Linked DNA regions of Homo sapiens: all the other regions are linked to region 1. Evidence: promoter capture Hi-C in 16 types of primary human blood cells and fetal thymus (Javierre and others, 2016). All regions are on one chromosome and are shown on one strand. The core of a region is centred on a gene start or on the middle of the fragment in contact, and the rest is flanking DNA. Distances in the headings are between cores, read along the strand shown. Region 1 holds the start of MARCHF6 (membrane associated ring-CH-type finger 6). Region 2 overlaps ICE1 (interactor of little elongation complex ELL subunit 1). Region 3 overlaps LINC02102 (long intergenic non-protein coding RNA 2102). Region 4 overlaps TENT4A (terminal nucleotidyltransferase 4A).

Region 1 (6,134 bases), core at 2,155-4,654:
GCTCTGAAGTTTAAAAATGTCAGGATGGATAGCAGTTGACATAACACATCTGCACTCATACAAATAACATATACACAGTAAGAATGATTTATCCATCCCTGTATTATGAGAATGGATTATAAACCTGTTGATTTTACAAAAATTAATTTAATACTGAAGAAACTTTAGAGATCTTTAAAATCTAGCAAACAATTAGTATGAAACAGCCATGTCGGAACTAAGTATTACTACAAATGCATAACATTCTGAGCATCAGACTATCATATATGGTACCATCAGAGGCAAGCAATGTGCTATTTTTAAAAGGAAGGGAAGACTTACTATACGCACGGTTGATGTGTTTGTAACATTCTTAATCTCTTTGCTCAGAATATTAAAATATATTTTTAAAGGACAGAGAACCGGCCAGGAACGGTAGCTCACGCTCGTAATCCCAGCATTTTGGGAGGTTGAGGCGGACAGATCACCTGAGGTCAGGAGTTTGAGACCAGTCTGGCCAACATGGCGAAACCCCATCTCTACTAAAAACACAAAAATTAGCAGAGGGAGGTGGCGCGCTCCTGTAATCCCAGCTACTCAGGAGGCTGAGACAGGAGAATCGCTTGAACCTGGGAGGTGGAGGTTGCAGTGAGCAGAGATCATGCCACTGCACTTCAGCCTGGGCAACAGGGCAAGACTCCATCTCGGAAAATAAAATAAAATAAAATAAAATAAAATAAAATAAAATAAAATAAAATAAAATAAAATAAAATAAATAAAAAACAGAACCACAACAGTATAAGTGTTTTCAAAAGTAGGTGATACTGATTTTTTTTTAATTTAGTTTTATGTTTGGCCATACTTTGAATATCTCCTACCAAAAAATTTCTAAGCAGATTTAAAAAACCTAAGTCGCATTTTTTAAAGAAATAACCTATAATAACTGATTTCACAAATAGAACATTTTTTATTAGTTTTTTGGCATCTTTGCTATATCATTTTTAATCCTCTATAACCCTCCCTTTTCCTTTAAGTGTTATTTCAACTTAAATTTAATTGTAAAAATGTCAGAAGACTTCCAAACTGGAATTTTGCAAAAGCAGGCATGAGAATACGGCACTAAAATTCACTTGCATTTCATGACTAATAATTTCATAAAACAAAATAAAGCAAAATAAAGTTTCCACCAAATTATATAAATGATTCATCCTATAGAGGGAGTGACAAAAATAAATTTCAACATTGGACTTGTAGTATACACTCATAAATAAATAATCTAATTTAAGTGCGACTCTGACAGACATGAGTCTGAATCTTGCCTCTGCCATTTACTACCTGTATTATCCTGGACAAGTTACTTAATCATACTAACCATCAGTTTCCTCATCTGTAAAATGAAAATGCCGACTACCTAACGATGTGAGAGAATTAAATGAAATGTATATAAAGTGTTTAGTAAAGCACATACTACACGTTGAGTCTTCAGCACATGTTATTTTAACAGGCAACAGTGTTCAATAAATAAATGTTATGTATACCTTATCCTGATTATAATTTTACAAGAGAAAAAATATATTTAAGCACTAGAAGTACAGTGAAAATATTTCATGATTCCATACGTGCTTCGAGCGCAATTCCTGAATTACCACAGATTACTGTCACACCATAAAAGTATGCAAGTAGCAATGCCCAGGCCAAAAGAATGAGAATTGAATGTAATACGTCCGTACCTATCCTGTGATAAATACATGCCTTACTAGATTTACTCATTAAAACCTGAATCTAAAAGGATGTGAAACCTATGTAGATGGAAATTTACACGCAAGGACCACCTGTCAAAAAGAAATAGTTCGCAACCTTCAGCAGTTTCGCTTTACTATTTTTTCCAAAGGCGTCTCCAGTGGCGATTAGCTACACTCAGTGTATATAATAAACACACTGTGGCATAATGAAAGGGAAATTACTTGCAATCAGAATGCCTAGGTTCAAATCTGCCTCTTACTACCTGTGTAAAGCTTCGACAAGCTATTAAAATAACGAAGCCTACATTTCCACATCTATAAAAGATAATACCTACCTATTCCACAGGCTTTTTACGAAGATGGAACGCGAATGTACATCAAGTGCCACATGTTATAGTTGAGGTATTTATTAAAGGCAAGACTTCTTTAAAAAAAAATAAGTCGTTATCAACTCATTACATAGATAATATCAAACTTTTTTCACTCATTATTGCACTCCATGACGGCGTTTGATAATTCATTTTCGTTTAAAATCGCCAAAATCGCAACCCATAAGGTTGAAAGACGCTCATACCCCCATAAATATACCTAAAGTAGAAAAGCATTTGCACGATAACCGGAACATCAAAAAAAGCAAAATTTAGTAATTTCCTCTATAAACTCACCACTCATTTAAAAACACAGCTGGTTAAAAATAATCTACTACCTTCAGTGGGTAAGAAAATGCGTTTGAAGAGACATAAGGTGTGGACGTTTATATCTTAAGTATTCATTTTACAAGGGTCAGTTTGTTCAATGTAACCGTATCCAAAACACAAGCAATCGCAAAACAAAACAAACAGAACCCTGCTTATAGGTGTCAAGGATTTAAAACCAAATGGATCGCAACAAAAGAGCCTCCCCGTTTAGTAAACAGATTCTCGAGCGGCAGGCAAGCCGAGGACCAGGCTTTTCAACAGGGGTCAGCTCACTCCACTCGGCCGTCATCTGGCGGGGTATTTTTCGCGAAGTTTCAAAGTCAACAAAGAAGTTCTGTCGCGAGGGGGTAGGGCCTGGCGAGCAATAGGCAGAAGGACGTAAAGAAAGACAAAACCCAGTGGGGGAAGGGTGCGGAAAACGCCCCCGGACGGCAGCGACAGAGGCCCCCTTTTCTGGGCCAGCGCGCGACGGCGGGGACAAGGGAGGCCACGCCGGCCTGCAGTAGCCCCGAGGCCCCGACCCCGGCCCCGGCCCCTGCCCGGCAGGGTCCCCGCCCCCCTCGGCGGCGCGGGCGGGAAACGGCGGGGGGCGCGCAGAGGGTCACCTTCCGCTCCCCGGCCCAGAGGCCCAGCGGGTGGACAAACGGCCCAGGCGTCCGCCCCGCCGCGATCCAGCAGCCCACCTCGAGCGCCGCGGACCTGGCCGGGGTACGAACCCGGGCGCCGACGCAAGGGCTCGGGCGCCGCGCGTCGCCGACTTACCTTCCTCCGCGGTGTCCATCTTGTCTGGGGGGGCGGCGGTGACGCAGCCACGAGGCTCCCGCGGCCGGGCGGGGAAAGAGGGAGGGGAGAGGAGGAGGGAGCCGGGCCCGGGCAGGTGCGTACGCTCAGGTGCGAGAGAGGAAGCGAGAGGAAGGAGAGGGGAGAGGGAGAGGGAGAGAGGCTGACAGAAAGCGAGCGACACGGGAGGGGGAGGGGCGGGAACACCTAGGGGCGAGGCCTGGGCGGGGCGCCGAGGCGGAAGGGGCGGGAGCTCCCCAACGACAGGCGCTGTCACTTCCGGCGGCCGCGGCGTGCACTGTCGGTCGGCGGCTAAGGAGGGGAGGCACCTGCATCTGGGGCGCGGCGAATCCTCGCGTGCGCCAGGCCGCCTGGGGTAGTCGCCGAGACTGCGCCGGCCAGCGGGGCCGAAACCTAATCAGGAGCTGAGCTTTGATGGCGGCTTCTGGAGGGACAAAGAAGGCGCAGAGCGGTGGGAGGAGGCTGCGAGAACCTAGCTCCCGCCCCAGCCGACGTGCGAGACAAAGGCCCCGGCGCGGGGCTCTTCGGAAGGCCGGGAGGTTCCTGTGACAATGCGAGTCTGCGCCCCACGCTCCCGCACCGTGATGCCGAGGCCAAATGGCTAGAGTGGGCCCAGGCATCAGCATTTCTGTTTGGCAGCCGGGCAGTTGTGGTGCACGTTTTGAGGAACTACTAAAGCCTGCCTGTGATGAAAAAGGCAAAAGCTGACTTCACCAAAATTACTCCCAGGGAGACTTCTGCATTTGGCTGGAAGGACATTTGAGTAAACCGCTGAGGCTGGTGGTTGAAACATAATCCTCTAAGGGAGATCGGTTCCGATACCCTGAGTTAGGGACGCTTGCCTGGGCAGAGCTAAGGGGAGAATGATCAAAAGCCAAGCTCTGTCCCCGTCAGCACGTCACCCTCCCTCACTGTAATCCCTGACTGTTTTCTCTAAATGAAGAATTATTTAGAGAATATAAATTAGAAGGGCCGCCACGTCAGAATTGCCTGAGTGGGAGCAGTCTTTCCAGCCTCGAAAAATGTTTAAACAATATGCAGATGACCTAGCACAAATAAAGAATGCTAGCAACCGCTGTTATGTGTGAGCGGTGGAATTGGGAGGGCTCTTCCCCCAATCTTCATCAAACAGAGTAAGGTTTAGAATAAAAATAATGAAATACAGTCTTTCAAAAAGAGCAGCGCTTGACTAATGTTACTGATGTCACTCATGTTACTCAAGGGAGGAAAGAACTCAAACTCTACATAATAATACCCACTGATTTCAAGGGCTGGCACGGAGAATTAAGCAGACCGCCATTCTTTATATTTGTTTTTTTGTTGTTGTTTGCTTATGATTTTTTTCTTTCTTTTTTTTTTTTTTTTTTTGAGAAGGGGTCTCGCACTGTCACCCAGGCAGGAATGCAGTGGCGCGATAATGGCTCACTGCAATCTCACTATATTGACCAGTATGATTTTCAACTCCTGTCTTTAAGCGATCCTCACGCTTCGGCCTCCCAAAGTGCTGGGGTTACAGACATGTGCCACTATGCCCTGCCTAAATATGTTTATATATACTACCGCCAAAGAAACAATTTGAAGACGATCTTTCCCCAGCCCCTCTCCTTCTGATCCAACTCCAAGAGCTCACCCTCCCTGTAAGACCTGTAGCAGAGCACGTATTGGCCTGCTGATACTAGGGGCAAAGACCGGGCCGATCAGATGTTACATGGCATAAGGGCGAAGGATTCTGAAAGAAAGACTGAGACTTGCTGGAGGAAGTACTAGTAGTGCCAAGGGCAGGTATGTGACCCTCGGAGCTGCAGAGCCAGGTTAGGATGAAGGGAATGTGTGTGTATGGGGGGCGTGGAGGAAGCCTTCCTTTTGTATTTAGGTGCCTTCCCTTGTGATGTTCAAAGGAAAGTTAACCTGTCAACCAGTTTTCCCTTCTGCATAGTAATTCCTTCTGGAATTGCCCTAACCTTTTCGCATTCAGACTTTAGGCGTTAAATATAAGAGTAATAAACCAACATTTGTTGAGTCCCCACTGTGAGTCAGGCACAAGTTCTCACAACAGCCCTTTGAATACATGAATCAGTCACACCTCTCTTGGTTGCCATTGACAGGAACTCAACTGTTAGGCAGAAGGGAGGAATGTACTGTTGATATGGACAGACTCCAAGAAGGGGAGGGACTGCTGGGACTACTAGAACGAGAATGCCTCTGCCCCTATGGCTCAGCTCTGCAACTCTCTCTGCACATTGGCTTCATGCTGTTAGACCAGCTTCCTCCATATGTCTGGAAACAAGGCCACTGACAGCTCCCAACATTTCATCTTCTGCCTCATCATCAGACAGGCGAGGTAAGGATGATGATCTCTAGTCCCAAGTTAAAAATTCTCAGGGAAGGCTAGTTCATTGGTCCAGCTAGTTGCCTGTCCGTGAATCAAATGATTGTGCCAAAGATCTAGGATCTTTAAGAACATGGACATTGTCATGTTCTTGTAACTGCCATTTCAGGTAAGAACAATGTACACTACCTTGTGGAAGTAGAGAAAGACCGTTTCCCACAAGAAGGGGGAGGACCAAACAATAGATATCCATTACAATTAGAATTCTCATTGTCCAATCAAGAAAAATACTTTTTTTTTTTTTGAAACATTGTTACCGAGGCTGGAGTGCAGTGGCATGATCTTGGCTCATTGCAACAGTCCACCACCCTGGCTTAAGTGATCCTCCCACCTCAGCTTCCCGAGTATCAAGTAGCTGGGACTACAGGCATATGACGCCCAGCTAATTTTTGTGGTTTGTTTTTTTGTTTGTTTGTTTTTGGTATAGATGGGGTTTCACCATGTTGCCCAGGCTGGTCTTGAACTCCTGGGCTCAAGCAATCCGCCCACCATGGCCGCCCAAAGTGCTGGGATTGCAGGTGTGAG
Region 2 (6,134 bases), core at 1,876-4,375, 4.9 Mb after region 1:
TTTACTCATGCCTACATTTCATTTGCCCTCCTTCCTGAACTGACTAAGGCTTCAGCACAATATTGAATAGTAAGGGTAATAACAGGTGTCTTTGTCTTAAAAGTTGGAATTAGTTAATTAAATTTGCTCTGTTCCAGGTTATTGGTTGATATCCTTTAATCATGTTATGAAACTTCTACACACAGTCTGCTAAAAGATTTTCATGTATAGGTATCAATCTTCATCAAATAAATTTCTGTATTTAGTTTGAATATGTATTTTTCTCCCTTTATTTATTAATTTCAGTGAACTACAATAGATTTTCTAATGATAAAGCAGCCTTACATTCCTGGGGATAAAAGTAATTGAACACTATGTTAACATTATTTAAACACACTGAGGATTCAATTCCCCAATATCCTACTTAGGTTTTTTTTTTTCATCTATGTTCATAAGTGATATGCCTATACCATTTTTGCACTAAAATTACTAGGATGCCTTTCCCTTGCTAAAAACTGTAAGGAGGGAGTAAACTAGGAACACCTCTCATGCATGAATAAGACTTTGCTAGGTACAGAATTGTTGGGTCACCATCTGTTAAGCGTTAAATCATGACCTGTCCCACAAAAGACATGCTTAAGTCCTAACTCCCAGTATTTTAGAATGACCTTATTTAGAAATAGGGTCTTTACAGATATGATCAGGTTAAGATGAGGTCATACTGGACTAGAGTGGGCCCTAATCCAGATTTCTGGGCAGAGAGGGTGGATGCATGCATTTGCTTTTATTTCCCTCCCTAAAACCAGCTAAAAATACAGTCAAAAACTTTTTTTTCAAAAGGCAAAACCAACAAGGATGACAAGAGGATAAAAGACAAACGGAAACTGGAAAGCAGACTCAAGAGTACTGATTTAGCACCCAAGAAAGCCAGCAGTGGGGAAAAGTGAGAACCAGCTCCATTTATACTGCAAAACTTCAACAAGCTTGAGAATCAGTAACATGGATTCTTTTGAGAAGGTGAAGGGGAATGGAACTAAAACAAGCACTAGTTGCAAACTTTCTCATAAGCATTTAATCCCAATCCCCAACCATCCACCATGCCTCAGAGAAATCACTCCTCCCCCATCCAGCAGAAAGAGGTTTGCTTTTTGAAGGTCTCTGTAACACCAGGGACCCTTGGGGCAGGTGTACTATGTCAAAAGCATAAAGATTAAATAAACCTAAGCACAGTGGTCTAAGACTGGCTGCCTGTCTCTCTTCATTAGGCTTCCAAACAGTGTAGTCCTTCTGTCTTCCAGGAAGAAGAAGGGAAATACCTTCTTACAGATAATATCTAAAGGTAATGACACTAGACATTCTTCAATCAATAAATGGCCCAACCAGACTGTCCTGCCTTGACACTCAGGGTCCAGAAGCCCCACATCCTCAGTGTATCTGCTACTCGCTCTTTGCAAGGACTTCCAAACATGAGACAGACCTGCAGTGTGAAAGAGGCTAAAACAAGCAAAAGCAACCTGAAGTAAACAAAAACTGAAAAGAAAACTTAAAAAATGTTTATTAATAGGATGAGATAAATAATATTATATTTGCGAAACAAGTTATTTTTGAAAGGAATATTCAGAGCTCTTAAAATTGAAAAAACTTAAAAATTAAAAATGAACACTCTAGAATAACTAAAATTAAAAGACAGACAATAGCAAGTGTTGATGATGATGTGGAGAAACTGAATACATTCCTCATACATTGCTGGTGGGAATATAAAATGGGGCAGCTGCTGAGCAAACTAGTTTTGCAGTTCCTCAAAATGTTAAATAGTTACCCAACGATCCAACAGTCCCATTCCTAGGTATGAACTGAAAATAGAGTCCACGGCAAACTTACACACTGATATTTATAGCAGCACTATTTCAAACTAGCCAAAAAGTGAACATAAATTAAATGTCCATCAAAGGATGAACTGATTCACAAAATGTCACATATCCATACAACAGGAATTATTTGACAATGAAAATGAACGAATGATACATGCTACAACATGGACCAACCTTGAAACATTATGCTAAGTGAAAAAAGCCAGTTACAAAAGTCCACGTGTATTCTAGAGTCCATTCATATGAATTTTCCTTAACAGAGCCAAAAGTAATCCAGTGGCTGCCAGAGACTGGAGGAAGAGTACAGAGACAGGAAATGACTAGTAACTAGTATAGGGTTTCTTTGGGGAAGGTGGAGGATGAAAATGTTTTAGGACTATGTAGTGGTGATGTCTGCACAACTCTGTGAATTGAACTGAATTGTATACAATAAAAGGCAGAATTTTATATGTAAATTATATTTCAATAATGCTGTTATAGCTAACAAAGACTCAAAATATTTGACCATAAAGTTAAAAAAAAAGGATGCAGAAAATAAAAACCCAGACACGAGAAAGAAGGAAAATAAATAAAAACAAATAGGGTATCAACACAAGAGGCCCCACATACCCAACAATAAGAGTTCCACATAAAGAATAAGGCGAAGATGGAGACCTAATTAAAAAAAAAATACTGGTATTCAAGAAAAGTTCCCAGAAGCAAATCTAGAAATTTCTAATTGAAAGGGCCTGGAATATGGACTTCAATAGGATTCAAACCATGAAACAAGAACACAAAATTTCAGACCACTGGAGACAAAGCAAAGACCCTACCAGAATCCCAAGAGCAAAATAAAAGGCATCAAGTGATACACAAAGAATCGGGGATAGAATGGCTTCAGACTTCAACACCAACACGAAAAACTAGACCTAGAAAGCAAGCCTTCGAAATGGCAAAGGGCAAGTAATTCCAAGATAAAATTCTACACAATAAATATTTTCAAATCTGCAAAGTCTCTACAAACTTACTTCCCAGACATTCTTTCTCAGGGGGTACTGAAAGATGTGAACATGGTCCTTCGGAATGGAGATGGGGGTGAAGAGAGCCCTCAGAATGCTGCTGCGTACCAGATGACAGTAGGCCCCAAAGCTCGAAGGGAGAAGAAAATGAAAGACTGAAAACATTCGAGTATTTATACCAAACTGGCAGAGACTTGCAAGGGAATGCAGTTATTTTTGGACATGCATTTAAACTATTATTTTTTCTAAAATAAAAGTGATTCTTCCTCTTTTTTCTCCCATTCTCTTTTGAGTTCTTTGGTACCCTAGCTCATCTTTCCCATGCTTCTAGATGTCATTTTGAGTTGCCAAGTACTTAGGCAGAGACCCCGAAGAAACCTCAGGCTCCAGAGTCACAGAGTCAGATTCACATTCCTATTCCACCCCCACTTTCTGCTAAGTGACCTTGGGCAAATTTATTTAACCTCTCCCCTGCCTCGAAACTATTTCATCAGTTTTACAGATGGAGAAACTGAAGCAAAAAGAGTTTAAATAACTGGCATACTATCAGGATTAAATAAGATGCACCATATAAAGTGTTCAATCCAGTCCCTGGCATAGCAGTAAGCACTCACTAATATCTTCAGGATGAAAAATTGAATTAAAGATACAATCATTATCAGGGAAAACAAGAAACCATGCAGAAAACACCACAGCTTAGCTTCAAATAACAGTCCTAATAATGTCAACTTCAAATACTGATCTAACTGAAATCATAACTATACTGAACAAATGGAGAAAGAAGAGATATGCTTAGGCATGGTGGAGTATGGGGCAGTAAGAGAGCTGAATCCTCACCTCCCAAAGTCAGCAATGAGTCTACTATTTAACAACAGGAAAATTCATTGTAAAATACACAGTGGAAGCAATTAAAAATGGTTCTGTCTTGGAAAGCAGGGATGAGTGGGGCTGGGGGCTGCTGACTTGTTGTCTTAACAACTCTTGTATATCTGTCTAGCTGCCTTTTTATATTTAACTGTGATTAAACAAAAAACAAGATCACAAAACAGTATAATGAGAAAACAAAAGATTTCTCAGTTATCCGATAGCATTCTAGTCTCTGACTAACATTATTTCCCAAGGCCCTGCTGCATATCAGCTCAAATCTGGTCAGATACTGTATTATCTGTGGTCAGATATTGTAATACTCTGATAAAACATTTTTTTTTCCTCCAATCAGATTCAGATGTCATTTATGTTGGCTGAAACCAAGGCCTCTAAATAATGAACCTCGCAATTGTGAAAGTGAGCAGGGTGTGCCTGGGTGAAGGGCGATCAGGCTCCTCTGACCCACATTCATTCCTGCACAGGTCCAGCTGCTATGGAAGAAGTGAGGTTCAAGGTGTTCTTCCTCTCCAGGAGATACTAAGGGTTGTTTCCTCGATTATCGCTTTCTCTTAGCAGCCCTGCTCTCCTCTTCTAGAGCTTCTATTATATAGTCTATTGGAAAGTTCAGGCTTATTTTCAATTCTCTCCTCTTTTCTCTCATAACTACCATCTTTTCTTTGCCTTCTGGGTGATTTCTTAAGCTATACTAATTCACTAACACAATTCCCAGAGCAGCCCACTCTCTTACTCAAGACTTTTTGTTTCCCATTTACTTCTCCCCTCTACCAGACAATTTTAACTTTATCCATACAATACCCTCCTGAATTGTCACTGTGAATGCTGATGCCCATGCTTCCTTCCTTTCTTGGGGAAGTAGAATCACACCTGGCTGAGCACACAGGGCAAGGAGCAAGCTAGCAGGCATACCAGCTGAGAGGACATGACAGAAGACATGGCCAGTGTAGCCAGGAAAATGGTTATGCTAAGGTAGTAAGTATATAGATAATATAGCAAACAAATAAATACAGATGATAATGGGATATGTAGTCTGCTCAAACAAATCAGTAAATATGTAAGAGAAGACAGTTTCTTAACTTCAGCACTACTGACATCTTGGGCTAGAAGGAAGACGGGATGTTCGGCAGAATCCCTGGCCTCTACCAGCTGGCTGTAGCACTCCCCAAGCTCCAAGGTGTGTGTGCAGCAAACAATTAACCCAGCAGGCCTGAGAACACGATCCTTAGCAAGACCTGCTTGCAAGGTGGGCCATTGGCTGTCACCTGAGGACTCGGATTTCTGGAGAGTTCCTTCCCATCATTCCCCAAACTGATGAAAATGGCTCATCATGTATGGTTTATGCTCAACACCTGCTTTCCTTGTGGGGGTCTGGAATCTTGGTGCTTGCTAGGCAGAGGGTGCCTACAAGACCAGCCCCCAGTAAAAAAAACTCAGGCACTAGGTCCCTAATGAGATTCCCCGGCAGATAACACTTCACAAGTACTGTTACAACACGATACTGGAGCAATTAGGCATGTGCTGTGTGACTCTACTGGGAAACACTCTCAGAAGCTTGTGCCTGATTTCCCCAGACTTTGCCCCATATGCCTTTTCCCTTTACTGACTTCACTCTGTATGCTTTCCCTGTAAGAAACCACAGCCATGAGTATAACTATATGCTAAGTCCTATGAGTACTGAACATGAGCATGGTCTTAGGGACTCCAACACTGACAATCAAAAATGTCTTCAGAAGTAGTAAAACGTTCGCTGAGGAATGCAAGGCTCTGCTGTTTAAACTTTCACAAACATGAAAGACAAAGACTAAATGAAGGAGGCTGAAGAGACATTACAATAAAATATAACACATATTCCTGACATGACTTTGAGTAAGAAAGCAAAAAGCCACTCCCAGGCCAGCAAGCAAAATCTGAATAGGTCTACAGCTGCACCAATGTTACTATCCTGATTTGGAGGGGTGTAGGGTAATTATGTTGGAAAACGTTCATATCTGGAGGAAGTATACCCTGGAACATGTACAGGAGACAAAGTGTATGTGTGCAGACAATGATGAAGCAAATGCAATAACATGTTAACAATTTGTGAATTTGAGAACATCAGGGTTATTTGTATTATTGTGGCAACTTTATTGTAAGTCTGAAATTATTTCAAAATAAATTATTTTTAAAAATCACACTACTCACATTTATTGCTTTGCTGGGAGAGATCTGGCTAATTGTTCAGCATGACTCCTCTCTGATAAACCACTTATTCCTGGTGTGCTTGCTGTTTACTAACTGCTCTTATTTAAAATCAAAGCCTACACTGATATCTAGCAGAGATGAGTGTGTCTTCTCACCTGTTAAAACCTCTGGCACAGCGTGGACTGGAACAGGGCAACAAGGCAGGAATGTCCACCTCTCT
Region 3 (6,134 bases), core at 1,414-3,913, 3.6 Mb after region 1:
ACATACAGGTGACAAATTCCGTCTCTGAGTGAGGGCCCAAAGAAGCTCTCAGCTCAATAAACGGAGATGTGTGTGATGTACACACATGTGCAGGGTACTAGTGGGAGACAGGGCAAGGGAACCTAGAGGTGTTGCTGGACTGATCCTAGAAGATGCAGAGTATTAGCCTAACAGAGGAAGGACATTCCAGGATGAGAAATGTCTGGAGACACAGCCCTGAGGACAGAAATTCCCCAGGGCTCTCAGTGGCCAGGGGCCAAGCATGGCAGCAGAAATCCAATGTGAGGCTGTTGGCCAAAGCCAGGCACAGGAAGGGTGTGCCATGGTCAGCACTTTTGGGGGTACCATTAAAAGATGTACCCCAAAGAGGGGTATGGTCTAACATGCGTTTTAAGAAAAGTTCACTTTGTCTTAACAGATGGAATTATGAGAGGCCAAGATTGAAGATGGAGGTAAAGGTTGGGGGGATGGCCTTTTGAGAGAAATAGAAAATCAGTAATGGGCACAGTATTAGGTATGCAAAGGATTATTTAGGAGAAAATAAATTAGGGTCAGTTATTGTAGTTGCTATAAGAAGCGATCTCAAATCAGAGTGGCATCACATGTTAAGAGTTTATTTCTTATTCACTTCCCAGTCCACTGTGGGCCTGCATGGGGCCTGGGGTATGGGGAAGGAGAACTCTGCTCCACACAGTCATTCAGGAATCCTGGCTCTTTCAGGCAGAAGTTCTGCCATTCCCTTGGGCCCTGGAGTTTTCAGCTAGTTCTCTGCAGAGGGCCAGCAAAGGGGTGAGGGGAAGAAATAGGATGGAGCATCCTGCAGGAGGTTTAGGGTCCAGGTCTGGGGGGTGGCCAGCACATCACTCACATGCATATTTTGGTGGCCAGAACTCAGACATGTGGCCCCATCTAACTTGAGGGAGGCTGGACTATATAGTCCAGCTGAGAGCCCAGAACAAAAAGGAACTGGGTCTGGCAAACACAGCACACTGACTTTGCCACAACATGTTTCGGAGGTAAAATCTTTGGGGGCTCAGTAATTGATTCAACGTGGAAGAAGGAGAGAGGAAAGTTCAGAGAGCTTCCAGGTTTCCACCAGGGAGGTCGGAACAGGTTGCCTTAGATGGTGACCGCAGGAGCCACTGCCTGAGCAAGGAAGATGGTGCATTCATTTTAAAATCGCTGTGTAGCTTAACATTCACTGCCCGTATTAACATGTGTCCTGCATTCCATTTATTGGAGAAATGTTTCTTTTTCTTTATTTTTTAAATGAATATAATTTACAATGTAAAAGGTCAAATAAAATGAAAGTGAAACAGAAAAATCCTCACTTTTCAATATTCCTTTCTCATCTAATGAAGACCCCTTCCCTTCTCTATTTCTCCCGGCTCCCTGCCTTAGGCCTAAAGCAACAACCAGAAGCCTTCCTGGGTGTTTACATTACAGCACACCAGACTGCAGGCACCGCCACCCCAGACTCTGCCTGCAGCTAAAGTCACCAAGTTTGCCGTGCCCCATAACTGAGGTCATTGGCAGCCCAGCACCAAGCCTCACTGGCATCAAGGGCAGCGGGTTAGTAAGCATGGCTCCACACGGGTAAGCAGTTCTAGGAAATGGGAAGAAACCCAGACCATCCATCTCAGGGTAAGTTTGCTGGATTTTCTCTCTCTTTTAAGAGTCTTTCAACAGGGCATACAGCCCATTCTCAAATTTAGATTTCTGTTTTTGTTAAGAACAGGGACTGTGGAACGAATTTGCCTGACTTTGCCATCATTCTGCCATTTCCTAGCTATGTGGCCTCAGGCAAACTGATTAAACTTACTGGCCTCAGAATGGGGAAAATTTCTGTAACTCATGCCTGGAATTACGTGAAGATGAAAAGCAGGCATGTCCATGAGATGCTTACAAGAGGGACCAGCGCCGTGTACCTATTCTGTGCATCCTACCCGTCCACTGTTCCTTCTCCGTGTTTCTTGAAGAAGCTGGAGTTTTCTTTCAGTCTTCTGCTTCTCCTGTTGCTTCCTCTAACTGAAGGAAGAATCAGTCCATGGCTTCTGCTCCATGCTTTCTGCTCTTGGTTCAGGCTCCAACTTTCCCATTAATGGAAGAGAATGGCTCTCCTGCTCCCAGCTGTAATGAACTAATTAATTTTTCTATCTCTCTAATCATTCTCTATTCCCTGCCAAACCCTCTGGGTGTCTGTTTTGTTCTATTGTTCAAGCCTGGACTTTGAGGGTAGGCTGGGGGCATTGCTAGTCCCCACAATTGCTAATCCAGGCACTTGAGTCATTATCTTCTATACATCACACTTAACAACCAGAGGGAAGTGCAACCTCGTGGGCCTCGGAAAGGAAACCACCCACAGACTTGTGCGCCTTCTTCGCAGGCCAGGCTCTCCTTCCCCCATGGTAAGAAGGTGAAGACTTGGAGATTGGTGAGTCAGGCAATCAAGGTCAAATTGACATACTCTAGAAGATTACATGCCGTGTGGAACAGTACTGGGCAGTGGACCCACTGGGACAGGGGCTCAGGAGGCTATGGCAGTCCCGCAGGAGATTCTGGAGGTAAGGGGTTGAATGGGGAGCAGCGTTGATTTGGATGCAGCATGGATTTTGAAGTAGAGCCAGCCATGGGGAGCTAGTGGGGAGGGAGGCAAAGAGTGAACAAAGCATCCGTTCGGGTCGGTGGCCTCAGCCATGGATGAAAGTCTTATTTCCTGAGATGGGGGACACTGGGTGGAGCAGGAAGCATCCCTCTTTAGGAAATGCTAGGTTGGAGATGTCCCTCGTACATCCCCAGGAGACAGTTGGACACAGAGGCTTGCATTTAGAAGAGAAGCCAGTCTGGAAAGGGCCGTCACGGAGCAAGCCCTGCCTGGCTGGCATGTAGCAGAGCTGCATGGGGTGAGCTCACCCGGGCGGGGACGGGTGTGGAAAGCGCAGAGAAGCAGGGTAAGAGCAGCCTGAGGGTGTGGGGGGAGGTGGATGGAGACGTGGGCTTGTCATTTGTCTTTGAGAATTCGCTGCATGGCATTTTAAACCTCTTTAAATTTCTGAGTAGGTTTGAGGTGTGTGTTGTAAGTTTTCAAGGCCCTATTCAATAAAATATCTGGGTAATTACTACACTCAGGAAACTGGCGCAAGTCCACTGAGGCCTAAAAATAGCAAGTTTACAGACCTGTGGATTCTTTTCTCATGACAGTGAGGCCTCACAGGCCCTGCCAGGCAGCCCGGGAGGTGCAGGCCCCCCTTAGAGACACAGACAGAGGCTGGACACAGAGCCTGGCTGGCCGAGACCTTTCCAGTGAATTCTGTGCCACCAGAAGGACAGGCATAGGCGATGGCTGGTGCCCTCACGAGGTCACCAGTGGGCTGTTTGTTGAGAAAAATGCTGCTTGTAATTTTACTTTCCTTCTGAATTTTAGCCGTTTTCTTCTGAATTTTAGCCATTACACGGATGATGGCTAAAATCACAAAGGGCACAGAAGCACAAAGGCCAGGGGCAAGGGTGGGGAGAAGCATGGGACAGCCACATTCTAAACATGGTGGTGGCATCCTTGAAAACGAGTGAATGACCGAGGCAATCCATTTCCGAGGTTTTAATCACATACATAATCATTGGTTGTGAAAAAGTGTTTCAACACCAGCGAAGACATGACCACAAAACCAATGTTTAGGGAAAAACACAGAAGACATTATTCACAGCTGTTGTCTATTCATTTACTTCTTTGAATTGGAAGAGTGGTTTTAGCTGTGAAATGCCTCCATGCAGCTGGGAAAACGTGGTCTCTTCCATAGGAGTATTTGAGGACCTCAACCCTGGGTCCGGACTCTGGTTTACAATTGTAGTTCAAGATGTTGGTATTGGAAGGAGGGGCCAGGAGAACAAATCCTCCTACACAAAGAGGCTTGCAGGAGATGTGTTACTGCCAGGGGGCTGTCCACAGTGTACTTACTTCTCCTTGAAGACACCTTGAGAAAGGACAGCGCATACTGGTAGTGATCTTGGCAACCTGTCTTAGGCCAGGCACAGAGGCTGAGATGGGGGGTCACTTTTTTCTTTTTTTATTTTTTTTGTTTGTTTGTTTGTTTTGAGACAGAGTCGCACTCTGTCACCCAGGCTGGAGTGCAGTGGCGCAATCTCAGCTCACTGCAACCCTGCCTCCCGGGTTCAAGTGATTTTCCTGCCTCAGCCTCCTGAGTAGCTGGGATTACAGGTGCATACCACCACTCCTGACTAATTTTTTTTGTATTTTTAGTAGAGACGGGGTTTCACCATGCTGGCCAGGCTGGTCTCAAAACTCCTGACCCCAGGTAATCTGCCCACCTCAGCCTCCCAAAGTGCTGGGATTACAGGCGTGAGCCACTGCGCCCGGCCTCTTCTTTCTTTTTTTTTTTTTTTTTTTTAATAGAGATGGGGTCTTCCTATGTTTCCCAGGAGTTGGAGACCAGCCTGGACAACATAGGAAGACCCCGTCTCTATTAAAAAAAGAAAAAAAAAATTGTCAGGTGTGATGGTGCACGCCTATGATCCCAGGCTCAGGAGGCTGCAGTGGGAGAATCATTTGGGCCCAGGAGGTCAAGGCTGCGGTGAGTTATGATGGCGCCACTGCACTCCAGCCTGGGCAACAGAATAAGGCCCTGTCTGGAAAAAGAGAGGGGACGGGGAGGGGAGGAAGGAGGGGGGGAAGGGGAAGGGGAGTGAGAGGGGAAGGGGAGAGGGAGGGAGGAGGAGGGGAAGGAAAGGAAAGGAAAGGAAAAAGGAAAGGAAAAAGAAAAGGAAAGGGGCAGCCTGCCTAGCATTGCGGAAGATCCCATGCGCCTCTCTGGAAGCTGGGAAGTAATCATCATGTGTCAAAGAGCATGCTGGCCCAGGGCGTGCTTTGTTTGGCCCACTCCATGTTTTTTTAATGTTTAAATGTTAATCTCTTTATTAGTTAGCTCTTGCTCATTTATGCTGCAGTAACAGACATCCCCAGGACCTCAGCGTTTCATAGGAACGACATGGCACACATTGGTGGTGGCTGTCCTCCCAGGCAGTACCCCACATCTTGTCTTCCGTGTTTGGGCACCCAGGCTGGAGTAGCAACCCATCTCAGTCAATGGCAAAGGAAGGTGAGACATGGCGAAACTACACATTTGCCCTCAAGATTCTGCTGGGTATAGCAATGTCATGCCAAATTCCATACCATTGGCCAACGCAATGCCAGGGAGCCCTGCAAGCCACGTGGTGAGGGTGGGATGTGTGAGCCTCTGACTAAGAGGACAGACAGAACACTTGAGAATAAATGGGAGGCTCTATTTTTCTTCTTTTTTTGATGTCTTGATGCAGCAGGAATGGGAGGTTCTAATACCATCTCACTCATCCTTGGACCAAGGACACCTCTCCCATGCACTATGCCCCATGCCTCTCTCTCACTATGGCCCAGTCCACGCATGGAGGTCCCAGTTGGTGCTCAGGTTCGTAGCGCCTACACGAATAAATGCAGTGCTGTTTACCGCCTCAGTCTGGCTAGCTTTAAACACAGCCACTAATAAGGTGATTGCTTTTTATCATAAAAATGCTGAAAGAGCATTGGATATTGTGACTTCAGGATGTCCAGAATCAAGAGGAAAAAAAACATTTCAACACTGTCAAAAATTTTGCCCTGTCTTTGTGGCCAGCTCCCTCTTGGTTCTTCAACACACATCTCCTTGTGCGTTGAATATTCAGTTATTCAATGACTCTACCTGTGGTTCTTCCCGTGTGGTGGGTGCAGGGTGCATGGCCAGCGATGGATGGCAGGAACCCAGACCCGTGGCGCTTCCTGTCACGGGCCCAGAATCAGGACTGACGGTCAGACTCCCTCACGGCCCCAGCGTTACTCCTGTACCTGAAAGCAGGCACAAAGGCAAGATTTTCAGGGCAAGTGTTCAATATTCTGTGTAAAAAAACGTCAGTGTTACTGACAGAGTGAGCAGCGGGTAGAATGTGAGTCACCTCGGAGGGAGGCTGCCTTTGTGTTCTTCTCAATTGTTCTGTAATAAAAGAGTTTCTAGAGACTGGAAACAGCGGAAAAGATGCACCATTGACACAAATTGTCATGTGCATTGCACAAACAGTTTCTCATTCAGGGGCATTTTCCACAGCCTCTA
Region 4 (6,134 bases), core at 2,394-4,893, 3.6 Mb after region 1:
TGGATTCAAGAGATTCTCCTGCCTCAGCCTCCCAAGTAGCTGGGACTACAGGTGCGTGCCATCACGCCCGGATAATTTTTTGTATTTTTAGTAGAGATGGGGTTTTACTGTGTTAGCCAGGATGGTCTCGATCTCCTGAACTTGTGATCCGCCCTCCTTGGCCTCCCAAAGTGCTGGGATTACAGGCGTGAGCCATTGCACCCAGCCTGTTTTCCTCTTTATTAGCTTATCTCTTTGGACAATTCTCGCTTTGCTCTACATTTCCAGTGGCTAAAGAGACAGGCTACGGAGTGAGACTACCTGGACTCCAATGCCTGCTTTACACCTACCAGCTGTGTGACCCCAGGCCAGCTGTGCCGAGAACAGCCTCTCCCAGGAGGGTGGCAGGAGACACTGTATAAAGGGTGAGGGCTCAGTCAGGCCAGTGGTGATTACTACTGTGGCTAGGACTGTACACCACTCACCTGATGGCAGCAGAGGAAAAGCTGAGGTCCCCACCTATTAAGGGAGGCTCTGTGAACAGCAAGTCATCTTCCCCAACCACAGGCCTTGTTATTTTATTCTAAAACCAATCCTAAAACGCGCTTTTTACTCAACGAGTCTGCAAGCTTCAGTTCATTCCATGCTTTCATCTCCCTGAATAGTTCCCATAGATTCCTACCCTTTAGAGTGTGGTCTCGGTGCTCTATCCTTCCACCTGTCACACTCGTCCTTCAGCATGAACATCAGTCTCTTGTGAGTCAGAACCACAAACTCTAGATAGATTCACCTTTTGCTTTCTTCCATGAGGTAACTCATAATGACACTTTAGAATTCCTTTGCATTTCACAGGACATGCAAGGTATCCTTTTCTATATTTTTGGCCATCATTTCATCGTTGTCCTTCCATTTTTTAATAATGTTTTACATAAGTTTAGAGACGATGCCTATAACCAAAATACACTTTACTGTGTTGCGTCACTGGCCCATCTCTGCCCATTCACAGAGGTCTTGCGTGGCTCTTCACTCCAACATACCAGTGCCCTCTCTGTGGGGGAGGTGGGAAGAAGCCCAGGCTTGCATACCATGCAGACCTGCATCTGGGCACCAGTGCCTTTATTTTCTAGTAGCGCCTTGGGCAAGACGCTTGAATCACTTAATGCTTAATTTTTCTCTCTTCAAAATGAGTTATAGTCCAGGATTGCGAGACTGCAGGTCAAGCCCCCAGTGCAGCAGTGCTGACTGAGGCAGCTGCGCTGCCAGTCCTGCCTTGTCTTTCAACTGCCGTCAGATGAAACAGCGAGTAAACAGCTCATCAGATGCTCCACTCTTCATAGAATGCAACTTCTAAGAATACTCCAGGTGACAGAAATCCCGCTTCCACACTGCAGCCTCCCTCCAGGCCAGTTCTGGAACACCTCAAGAAAGCACGAACCTGAGCGTACTACTGCGCAGGACTGGCTTCCCTATGAAATCCTCAACACTCCGCAACCCCACAGCTATCAACTTTGTCCTGCGGTGGCTGTCAAAGCACCCCACCACATCTGAATCTAATCTCTTTAGGAAAACAAAGCAAAAGGCCCTGCACCAACATATTTGAACCATGTTTGTAGAATGAGTTGCTAGGTTCCATCCCCCGCATGTTAGCGACGTCTTGTTCACTGAACACTGTTAGGAGTAAAGTGCCCAGATGTCAGCCGTGAATTCACATTTCCAACTGCAGCACCTCTTGCCAGGTCACGTCAGACTGTCAAGGCTTCAGTTTTCTGTCTACAAAACAGGAGTAATATCACTCATTTCAAGGGTCAGCTCTGGGAACTAAAGGAGCAAACTCGTGCAGAGAGCTAAGCCAAAAGAGCCCCACACACGAGCCACAATGGTGCTCGTGACCAGGAAGACTGTTGAGAGAAGGAAGTGACCGTCTGCACCATCATTAACCTGCGTGCAAAAATGCTGAGACCTATCACCTGCATGCTGGACTGGAGACACTCCAGGTCATAACAGTTGCTCCATGTTGCTCTGTGCTGCGCTCTGCTATGAACCTATTTTATGCTTCATGTGCTATTAAAACAGCGGCTTTTTGAAAAGGATTTGCATTGGAAACTCAAACAATTTCTAGAGCTTTCACAGTGATAACTTGCTGAGTAACACAGCTTTTACTGTTGTATGAGTTTCAATTTATTTCAGCAACAGTTACTGAATCAAACACTGTTTCAAATAGAGCCTAAAGTTACTGCAGTTCAGAGCTGTCTAAATACATGGCCATTTAAATTTTAATTAAAAGTAAATAAAATTAAAATTCAGCTCCTCAGTTGCATTTGTCACATTTCAAGTGCTCAAAAGTCACATATGGCCAGTGGCTACTGTATTAGTGCAAAAATAGAATTATTCCATCTCCACAGGAAGTTCTACTGGACAGTGCTGTTCTAGTTGCCTACTTAATGTTCCCTGGCCCTTAATTTTGTTTTCCTTCACTATACACAGAACACTATGTTAGAAGCTGCAAAGAGTTCAGAAAACACTTCATCCACTCCTTCTACTATGTGCAAGAAATAAAAAAACCTTAACCAACTTTAAATGAGTTACACGGAGCAGCACATACAGCCCTGAGCAAATACATCAAGAGTACCCTTGCCTCTGGGGAGATGAGATTCTTATTTAAAGCTGTAGAACAGTGCTGATGTACCTTCAGAACAGTTAAAAAAAAAAAAAAAAAAAAACTAACAAATGCAAAACTAGAACAGACATTATTCATCATTAAGGCATTGTTAAAATGTTTTAAAAATAGAAAGGTATCTTTCAATTCACAACACCCCTCTAGCCCCCCACTCCCAAGACTCAGAATATTCAGTCTTTAGCAGTTTTCACTTTGGTCTGAAAGTGGAAGTTGTATTTTCAAAAACCAAGAAAAAGGCTTTTCCTGTCCAGCTGGCAAGAAGGACTTAATTTTTGGTTTCAATTTCCTTAAAGAGAGGAGAAAAGGGCAGCGGTGGCCTTTTTAATCTCTCGCATGACAACTCACAGAGTGCTTCCAAGTCTTTCATGTACTCTCTGAGGTGGGTGCCACAGGCTCTGCTTCACAGGGGGGGAAACTGAGGCTCAAGTTAGAAACCATGGCGAAACCAGCTAAAGCCAGACCTGTGAGTGTGTGACATGGGCTGATGGAGCTAGGCTCTCAAGAGCCAAGCACGTGGCTCCCGAAGCTGAGAAATGGACTCCACCGAGCAGGTCTGATGCAGAAACATCAAAATACATTCGACTTTTCATTTCCCTTAAACTACTACATCCTAGCCATTCCTTCAGATCGACAGGATTCCAGAAATGTTACAATGATCTGAAATCTCTTTCAAACGGAAAGACAGAAATCACCTAACACCCACATCCTAGCACTTGGGAAACTAACTCCAATCTGAAGCCACAGGAGAGCCTAACTGGTTATGCACGGCAGCTGATTTAGGAAAGAAAAGGATCACAAGCCCACAACAAAAAGGCATGTTGTTGATAATCAAAGACATTCTCTGCCAACAGGGACCCTCAGAGCTGCTCCCATCTCGCCCACCCTGTCAGCCAAGAGATGGATAAACTTCTGCAGAGATCCACCCCGCCCGGGCCCAGATGTGGCCCACCCCCTGGCTCACTGCCAGCAAATGCAGTGCACACCACCAGAGTCCAGGACACCAGGGACAGGCTCATAGGGCACTCTCTAGTGGCCCAATGGTGGACAACTCACCTCCATACTTCTCCAGGCTTTCTAACTTTTCATAGTTAGGTATTAATTTTTATAATAAGAAACAAAGAGCAGTTAAAACTAAATGGTGATGTTTTTCAAATACAGTATAGAATTTTCTTGAATGTTTTCTGCTTTTGCATTCTACATTGTAAAACAGAACACTAGTTTAGCCACTCTCCAGGAAGGAAAGCAGATAAACTGCAACAGACTTTATTTTTTAAAATTCTAAGACAAACAACAAAAGTTTCCCTTAGCATTTGGTTTATGAATACTCCGAAGACTTGCCATCCCCCACCTGCTCTCCTGAGTTGGCAGATCCTCCTCCTGCTCTTCTTTCTTGGGAGATACTTACTTAGTGGCTACCGTGTGCTTGGCACTAAGAATGCGGGCTACAATACAGCCCCTCCTTCCCTGAGGAGACTCAGGAGGGCAGTGGGATCAACTTAGTAATAGCAGCAACTCCACAAGAGCCAAACACTCAGGGGGCTCAGGAAGGGACAGAGGGAAGAACCGTGTGGGAGTTTTCTTGTGCCTCCTAAAGGAGGCACAGTGCTCTGAAGCCAAGGTTCTGGGGAAGCCAACATTGCTACGAACCTGGGCTTGCAGGACAAGTGTTCCCCACATCTTCTGCAAAGCAAAGATAGACTGCTATCAACTTAAGAGAACTGGGTTCCAGAGGTGACTCTTGGGTAAGTCATCAACCCCCACCTGCATAGGAAAGACCCCTTTCCTAAACTAGCCAATGCAGGACACCTCGTGAACAGGACTTTTCAATCACTGTATTTTCATATATTCACACGGCTTTCCTGCAAACTTTTATTTATTTATTTATTTATTTATTTATTTATTTATTTATTTATTTTGAGACAGAGTCTCGCTCTGTCACCAGGCTAGAGTGCTGTGGTGCGATCTCGGCTCACTGCAACCTCCAACTCTCCAGTTCAAAGGATTCTCCTGCCTCTGCCTCCCGAGTAGTCCTGCAAACTTTTCTTAAATGACATATTTTAAAGAATGTTCATCTGAGTGCAGCACAGAAAGGTTCTCCTGGTTATAGTGGCTGCCTGAGTTCAGTAGTAACCACCAAGCCAGAGGACGGAACTGGCAATCTGCAAGAGTCATTGCGATGGGCTGGAGTCCAGTCAGGGGAAAAGTGTTGGACAAGAAGAACCACAACCTGCTCATCAACGGATTCTATGCCAGGGGAAGTCTACCCACAGAAGAACCTCCTCCCCTCAAGGTCCTACACCCTACTCCTTGGAACCTGTGGCTCTGATGAGGTTATCACACCATGATCATGTTGTACTACTACATGACCTTCAGGTAGGCAGGTTATCTGCAGGAGCCTGACTCAATAACACAAGCCCATAGAAACAGGGGGCTTCCTCCAGCTGGCGGAAAACATCAGAGAAATTCAAAGTACCTTGCTTTGCAGATGGAATGCAGGTGGCCTTAAGAAGCTGACAGCGCCCTACCCAATTCCCCTGCTGGCAGCTAGCAAGCAATCAAGGACTTCCATCCTGCAAGGAACTGAATTCTGACAATAACAGGAATGTGCTGGTAAGAGGACCCTGAGTGCCAGCTGAGAACACAGCTGGCCAACACCTTGACTTCAGCCTTGCAAAAGCCTAAGCAGAGAACCCAGCCCCGCCATCCCTGATCTGACACACAAAATCCTTAAGACCATAAGTGAGTGTTCTTCTAAGCCTCTGAGTTTATGTTAATTTGCTACACAGCAACAGAGAACTACCACAACATAGAAATCTCAAAAATAGGATGCTGACGAGTGTGCATCCCCAGTGTTGGGAGAAAAGGCATCCTGGCCACCTCACTCAGGCACATGTTCCCAACAGGTCAGGTAACTTGGACACCTGTCAGCGCTGACTGAGACCACCTGCCTGCCCTCCCTGAGGTGCTTCTCAAGGCAGGTTCAGAGTGGCAGCTTTCGAAGAGGGCGAGGCTTGCCATCCAATTCACTGCAGAGAAGACAAAGCACTGACAAGCCAGCCACACCTCCTAGAAAGGGCCTCTTCATGGCAGCACTGCGGCTTCTTCAATCTTCTGCAAGTCTGGGTGGTCTGACTCTGCCACCCCTCTGTACCTTTAGTCCAAATTCTGGTTGCATCCTCAAAAATCAAGTTTCTGAATTTGAATATCAAGGTTTGCTGTTTTTTTTTCTTAACCTTTACTCCACAACTACAAAATCAGATCCTAAACCATATGACCTAACTGAGGCATAAAAAGTTCTTATTTTCCAAGGATAACTATTAACTCTTCTTCCACAGGACGCTTACATGAATCCATTTAAAATGAGGACAAAATCTCATATTAAATAGTGACCAAAGAACGTTTGAGACTTTACCTTGAGACACAAATCTTAGAACTTTTTACTTTAAAATATTTACTTAAAATTACTTTGAAAAATTAT

What was found. Contacts are between HindIII fragments. The CHiCAGO score rates a contact against its expected background, and 5 or more counts as called.
Region 2: a contact is called between a fragment that was not itself captured here and the fragment with the promoter of MARCHF6 in region 1, in 1 of 17 cell types (activated CD4 T cells). The highest score is 6.5, in activated CD4 T cells.
Region 3: a contact is called between a fragment that was not itself captured here and the fragment with the promoter of MARCHF6 in region 1, in 3 of 17 cell types (total CD4 T cells, activated CD4 T cells and non-activated CD4 T cells). The highest score is 7.3, in total CD4 T cells.
Region 4: a contact is called between a fragment that was not itself captured here and the fragment with the promoter of MARCHF6 in region 1, in 3 of 17 cell types (non-activated CD4 T cells, naive B cells and naive CD8 T cells). The highest score is 11.2, in non-activated CD4 T cells.

What each region holds. Positions count from the first base shown.
Region 1 is chr5:10,350,965-10,357,098 of GRCh38, reverse strand. It overlaps MARCHF6 (membrane associated ring-CH-type finger 6), which reads right to left and starts at 3,404. Exons shown (of 26, transcript NM_005885.4): 1 at 3,182-3,404. The coding sequence starts at 3,200. It overlaps MARCHF6-DT (MARCHF6 divergent transcript), which reads left to right and starts at 3,042. Exons shown (of 3, transcript NR_183261.1): 1 at 3,042-3,127; 2 at 5,326-5,561. RefSeq lists enhancers at 2,168-2,739, 3,586-3,845 and silencers at 2,796-3,265, 3,306-3,445. The HindIII fragment of the contact is 4,878 bases long and covers 1,997-6,134 here.
Region 2 is chr5:5,428,223-5,434,356 of GRCh38, reverse strand. The region is part of intron 1 of ICE1 (interactor of little elongation complex ELL subunit 1); the gene reads right to left. Among named protein-coding and RNA genes, the nearest start is that of ICE1, 8.6 kb to the right of the region's middle. The HindIII fragment of the contact is 4,322 bases long and covers 965-5,286 here.
Region 3 is chr5:6,701,538-6,707,671 of GRCh38, reverse strand. LINC02102 (long intergenic non-protein coding RNA 2102) reads left to right here. Exons shown (of 3, transcript NR_103771.1): 1 at 1-2,564; 2 at 4,963-5,114. Among named protein-coding and RNA genes, the nearest start is that of LINC02102, 3.1 kb to the left of the region's middle. The HindIII fragment of the contact is 8,406 bases long and covers 1-6,134 here.
Region 4 is chr5:6,719,113-6,725,246 of GRCh38, reverse strand. The region is part of intron 1 of TENT4A (terminal nucleotidyltransferase 4A); the gene reads right to left. Among named protein-coding and RNA genes, the nearest start is that of TENT4A, 8.7 kb to the right of the region's middle. RefSeq lists an enhancer at 3,518-3,567. The HindIII fragment of the contact is 6,065 bases long and covers 611-6,134 here.